Linked DNA regions of Homo sapiens: region 2 is linked to region 1. Evidence: promoter capture Hi-C in human tissues and cell types (Jung and others, 2019). All regions are on one chromosome and are shown on one strand. The core of a region is centred on a gene start or on the middle of the fragment in contact, and the rest is flanking DNA. Distances in the headings are between cores, read along the strand shown.

What was found. The method cuts DNA at HindIII sites, captures the fragments that hold promoters and counts their contacts. A contact is called where the count stands out against the background at its distance.
Region 2: a fragment that was not itself captured here is called in contact with the fragment with the promoter of NOTCH3 in region 1 in 2 of the 25 tissues and cell types used here (mesendoderm cells and thymus).

Annotation. Positions count from the first base shown.
Region 1 is chr19:15,199,418-15,202,318 of GRCh38, forward strand. It overlaps NOTCH3 (notch receptor 3), which reads right to left and starts at 1,578. Exons shown (of 33, transcript NM_000435.3): 1 at 1,371-1,578. The coding sequence starts at 1,488. RefSeq lists a silencer at 648-874 and enhancers at 1,461-1,962, 1,963-2,462. The HindIII fragment of the contact is 7,500 bases long and covers 1-2,901 here.
Region 2 is chr19:14,693,901-14,696,762 of GRCh38, forward strand. ZNF333 (zinc finger protein 333) reads left to right here. Exons shown (of 12, transcript NM_032433.4): 3 at 1,110-1,233; 4 at 1,666-1,761. Among named protein-coding and RNA genes, the nearest start is that of ZNF333, 5.3 kb to the left of the region's middle. The HindIII fragment of the contact is 5,396 bases long and covers 1-2,862 here.

The DNA of each region.
Region 1 (2,901 bases), core at 328-2,827:
TGGGTTGGCTGTGTCTGTCCATCTGCATGTGTGAGCTGGGTGTAAGCATGTCCTTGAGTCTTCATCTATGTGCTGTCTGAGTGTGTGCAGGCAGCGTGTGTGCCACACCTGTGTGATCATATTTGTGTGTGTATGTATGTCAATGTGTGAGCTGTGTGCGTGCAGCTGGGTGTGTCTTTCCTGAGCCAGGTGTGCAAGTCTGCGAGTGTGCTGTGTGTGTGCAGGTTTGCATCTCTGTTACGTGACCTAGAGCTATGTGTGCCAGCGAGTGTGTCACAGGCCATGTGTGTGCGCCGCTGGTCCGGCGGAGGCGGCGGCTCCTGCCTGGTCCTGCCCCGTCCGGGCCCCGGGGCTGGGCTGGGGAGGCCGTTCACTCCCGAAACCCCCACCCCGCCCAGCGCCAAGCCCCACACTGGCGTCTGGGACCCCTGGCCAGGGGCCTTGGCCCGCGCCCCTCCCCCGCCCACCAGGCCTCCCGTAGCGGTGAGGGGGGTGCCCCCGCAGCCCCCTCCCCGGCCCAGCCGCGGGTCCCGCTTTGTCTGGCAAAGAAAGCGCGAGGCCGGCCGGAGGGAGGGGGTGTCTAGACGGCGCGGCCATTGTCCCGAGCGGGGGAGGGGAGGGAGGAGAGGAGGAGGGGCGGGGGCCCCTGGCCGGCTGGGGAGGGGCTCTGGCCGCGGGGAGGGGGCGCTGGAGCCGAAGGGGAGCACGTGGGCCCTCGCCCCTTCCCCTCCCCGCGCAGGGGCGGGGTCCCAGGGCCTCCGGGTCCCCGCGGCCAGAGGAGAGAGGCGGGCTGCGGGCGGGGGAGGGGGCGCGCGCGCCGCCGAGGCTCCGGCTCGGAATCCGGCTCCGGGTCTTGCTGCGCGCCGGCCTGGGAAGTTTTCTCCGAGTTCAGAGCTCCCAGAACTTCGCGCCCCCTCCCCACCCCCCGCCTGGCCCAGCCCGCCCGGGGTGTCGGGGGCGGGGTGGGGGGGCTTTTGTGCGAGAGGTCCCCGGCCTAGAAGTACCTGGGCCCCCAATCATAACCTACCCAGGACTCCAGGCGTGAGTTGGATGGGGACGAGTCCCGAACTCTGTACGCACCCCCCCACCTCGAGTCCCTGATCCCCGCACCTCGAGCTCCCAGTCTCGGACTCCTGGGTCCCTTCATCTTCAGCTCTAATCGCTCAAGGGTCCCTGTTCCTTGGGCCTCTGGGGTCCTCCCCATTCTGAATCTCTGGGTCCTCCAGGACTGGCATGAAGCCCGGGGCTCCTGCGCCCCTTCCCCGACCCTGGTTCCTGCCTCCCATGAACCCCCGCCAGCCCCGGCCTTGGGGGTTCTTGCACTCCCCCTCTGCCGCCCTCGTCCCATCCGCCAGGTCCCGGCCCCTCACCTGCAGCCCCCGGCCCCGCTAGCAGCAGCAGCAGGGGCAGCGCCCGCACGGGTGGCGGTGGCGGTGGCGGCGACATCGGGCGACGGCGGCGGCGGCGGCCACGGGCCCCCGGCCCCATGGCGGCCGGCCGCGACCCTCCCCTCCTCCCTCCTTCCCTGGGCTCCGGGCGCGTCCCGGGCCAGCCTCCGCGCCGCCAACTTCGCCGAAGTGAGGCGGCCGGGCCGCCCCGCCCCCAGCCCTCGAAGGCTCGCCCCGCCCCGGGGCCGGCCCAGCGCGCCCCCGCCCCCCGCCCGGCCTCCCGGGGTCCCTGCCCACCCTCCACCCGCACAGCCTGGGACGCGCGGACCCTCGGAAACCCAGGCCGAGCATGCAGTGAGACGCGGGCAGAACCCGGAGTGGCGGGCACACCCAACCTCGTGAACGCCCACGCACCCCATCCCCATCCCCCAGTACACACCCAGAGCCGGACACCTCTGGAGCCGGGACAAAAAACACAGCCTCCCAGAAACTCTGGAAACTGAGGCCAGTCACGTCCTGAGAGGCTCATGGACCCACAGCCACGGACGCACAAATGCAAGCCCATGCACCAAGCTTCCCCAGGACTCTGATCTAAAACATTCACAAACCTAAAAGTCGGACCGGGCGCGGTGGCTCCGGCCTGTAATCCCAGCACTTTGAGAGGCAGAGGTGGATGGATCACTTGAGGTCAAGAGTTGGAGACCAGCCTGGCCAACATGGTGAAACCCGGACTCTACTGAAAATACAAAAATTAGCTGAGCGTGGTGGCGCACGCCTGTAGTCCCAGCTATTCGAGAGGCTGAAGCAGGAAAATCGCTTCAACCCAGGAGGCTGAGGTTGCACTTAGCCGAAATCGTACCACTGCGCTCCAGCCTGGGCAACAGAGTAAGACCCTGTCTCAAACAAAACAAACAAACAAAAAACCGCTAAAACTCACTCAGCCAGGCCAGGAGCCTAGGACTACATTTGCAGCCTCAGACCTCAGACACGTACTAGGAGTCACATGCATGTGTGTGTGTTCACACATGCACACACAAACTCTTCTTGCTCTCAGCCCTCCCAGAAAGCAACCCACTTCCTCTGTGACTCTCAAAGGGTCACCCCAGCCCCCTAGTCCCACCCCCATACCCCACACAGCTTTGGGCCTCAGCCTATCTGGCTCAATTTGATTAATTCTCTTTTCTTTTTTTTTTTTTTTTTGAGACAGCGTGTCGCTCTGTCACCCAGGCTGGAGTGCAGTGTCCCTATCTTGGCTCACTGCAAGCTCTACCTCCCAGGTTCAAGCGATTCTCCTTCCTCAGCCCCCACCCCCACAATCTGCCAAGTAGCTGGGATTAGAGGTGTGCGCCACCATACGTGGCTAATTTTTTCTGGGTTTTTGTTTACTTGTTTGTTTGTTTTTGAGACGGAGTCTCGCTCTGTTGCCCAGGCTGAAGTGCAGTGGCATGATCTCCGCTCACTGCAAGTTCCGCCTCCTGGGTTCACACCATTCTCCTGCCTCAGCCGTCCGAGT
Region 2 (2,862 bases), core at 245-2,744, 510 kb before region 1:
GCCCAGGAGATTGAGGCTGCATTGAGCTAGGATTGTGACCCTGCACTCCAGCCTAAGCTACAGAGTAAAACCTTGTCTCTAAAAAAAAAAAAAAAAAAAAAAAAATTAAAAAGTTTAAGCGCTCAGTTTCTCAGTCGCCCCAGTCACATTGCCCAAGTGCTCAACAGCCACATGTGCTGGTAGCCCCTTTCTGGAAAGCACAGGCATGGAACATTCCCATCATCAGAGAGTGATGTCTGTTGGACAGCACTGCTCTGAAGAATTCTGCAATTAAAAGGATTCTCAGATGAGGCCGGGCGTGGTGGCTCATGCCTGTAATCCCAGCACTTTGGGAGGCCGAGGCGGGCAGATCACTTGAGGCTGGGAGTTCAAGACCAGCCTGGCCAACATGGTGAAACTCTGTCTCTACTAAAAATACAAAAAGTTAGCTGGGTGTGTGGCACGTGCCTGTAATCCCAGCTACTTGGGAGGCTGAGGTAGGAAAATCGCTTGAACCCAGGAGGTGAAGGTTGCAGTGAGCCGAGATGGCGCCACTGCACTCCAGCCTGGACGACAGAGCAAGACTGTCTCAAAAAAAAAAAAGAAAAAAAGAAAAAGACTCTCAGATGCAATGGAAGTCCTACTTTCACAAGTATATAATTAAGGACGTAAGTCTTGGGGGATCCCAGGGACTTCACAGAAATTAAGCTTTCAATCCCAAATTTGTGATGCTGTGCCAATTTGTAATAAGGAGTTTAGGAAAAACTCTCTAAGCAGGGAGGGACAGGCTCTGCCATCACAAGTCAGTGGAGTTACACAGAGAGCCATAACTTTACACTTTAGGATTTATCCAAATGTTAAAAGAAAGTAAACATTTCAGCTTGGTGGCCCATGTGATCTCTGTCACAACTATTCAGTTCTGCCGTTGTGGCCTCAAAACAGCCATTGATGCATTGTAAATAAATGCACGTGGCTGTGTGCCAAGAAAACATTATTTACAAAAATAGGCTTTAGGCTGGATTTTCCATGCCTGCTGTGTCTGAACATTTTCTCTTCTCCAGTGATAACCAGTCGTTCTGCTCAGTGGTGGGGGTGGTATTTGCCGAGCCAGAATGTGTGTGCTGTTTTAGGAATCCGTCACCTTTGAGGATGTGGCCGTGGAGTTCATCCAGGAGTGGGCATTGCTGGACAGCGCACGGAGGAGCCTGTGCAAATACAGGATGCTTGACCAGTGCAGGACCCTGGCCTCCAGGGGTAAGGCTGGCGTCACCTGGCTCCTTCCTGTACGCAGGCACTAAATGCTTCTTAAGCGCCTGCCATGTGAAGAAGACAGACGTGGCTTAGGCTTTGTGGCACTTAGCGTCCACAGGATGACAAAGCTTCATCTGTTGCATTGACTTCTTTCCCTCTGTAGTAAGGCCCTGTTTGGGTCTCCTTGAATTTGGCCCCAGGCTTCTGAGGTGAGACAGCCTCAGCCCCTTGGGGCAGAGGGGAGGGTGTTTGTGGGTTGGGTCCTGAGTTCATTAGCTATTGGGCAAGATCCCTTTGCTACCCATCACACTTGCTCAGCCCAGAGAATCTGAAGCCCATATTGAAGCTGAAGGAGAGTTTGAGTTGAGAAACAAGAGTTTGTTTTCCCCTGCAAGCCCTCTCTCTCTCAGTGCCTGTGTCTTTCTTCATGTGCAGGAACTCCACCATGCAAACCCAGTTGTGTCTCCCAGCTGGGGCAAAGAGCAGAGCCAAAGGCAACAGAACGAGGGATTCTCCGTGCCACAGGTGTTGGTGAGTACCAGGCAGGCTGTGGATCCCCCGACCCCCCTGGTTGGGTGGTGTGCCTTGGGAAGTGTCAAGAGCATTTTCAAAGGCCCTTTGTTCTGAGGGGACATCGAAGGCCATTCGGAGTGAGGTTTCTCAAGTTCCTTTAGCTTCTCTTCTATTTTCACTTTCTAGCCCTCCTCTCCTACTTTCCTTTGGTTTCAGAAAAAGATTTGTTCTAATTTCTCTTAAAAAATTAGAGGGCCAGGTGTGGTGGCTCTTGCATGTAATCCCAGCACTTTGGGAGGCCGAGGCTGGTGGATCACCTGAGGTCAGGAGTTCGAGACCAGCCTGGCCAACATGGCAAAACCCCATCTCTACCAAAAATTAGCCGGATGTGATGGTGCACACCTGTAATCCCAGCTACTTGGGAGGCTGAGGCATGAGAATTGCTTGAACCTGGGAGGTAGAAGTTGCAGTGAGCCAAGATTGCATCACTGCACTCCAGCCTGGGGGATAGAGCGAGACTCTGTCTCCAAAAAACAAAACAAAGCAAAAATTAGAGCTATAAGTCACACACCATGAAATTCACCCCTTTAAAGTGTGCAGTTCAGTGGTTCACAACCTTGTGTAAACATCACCACTACCCAATTCCAGAACATTTTCATCACGCCAAGTAGAAACCCTGTCCCCATGGGCAGTTACTCCCCATTACCCCTCCCTCAGCCCCTGGCAGCCACTAATCTGCTTTCTGTCTCTATGGATTGTCCTATATAGACATTTGTATATGGAAATCGTATCATAAGTAGCCTTTGGTATCCGGCTTAGTATAATAGTTTTGTGTTGCAAGTAAGTTAGACTGGGTAGTTTATAAACAATAGAAGTTTATTTGACTCCTGGTTCTGGAGGCTGGGAAGTCTAAGGCTGAGGGGCTGCATCTGGTAAGGGCCTTCTTGCAGCATCATAACATGGTGGACGAGATCATGTTGCAAGAGAACAAGAGAGGCCCAGACTGGTTTTTACAGCAAGGCCACTCTTGAGATAACTAACCCCCTTCTGAAGTAATCACAGGGCAGATTCCTCGTGACCTAATCACCTTTTTTTTTTTTTTTTTTTTTTTTTGGGACA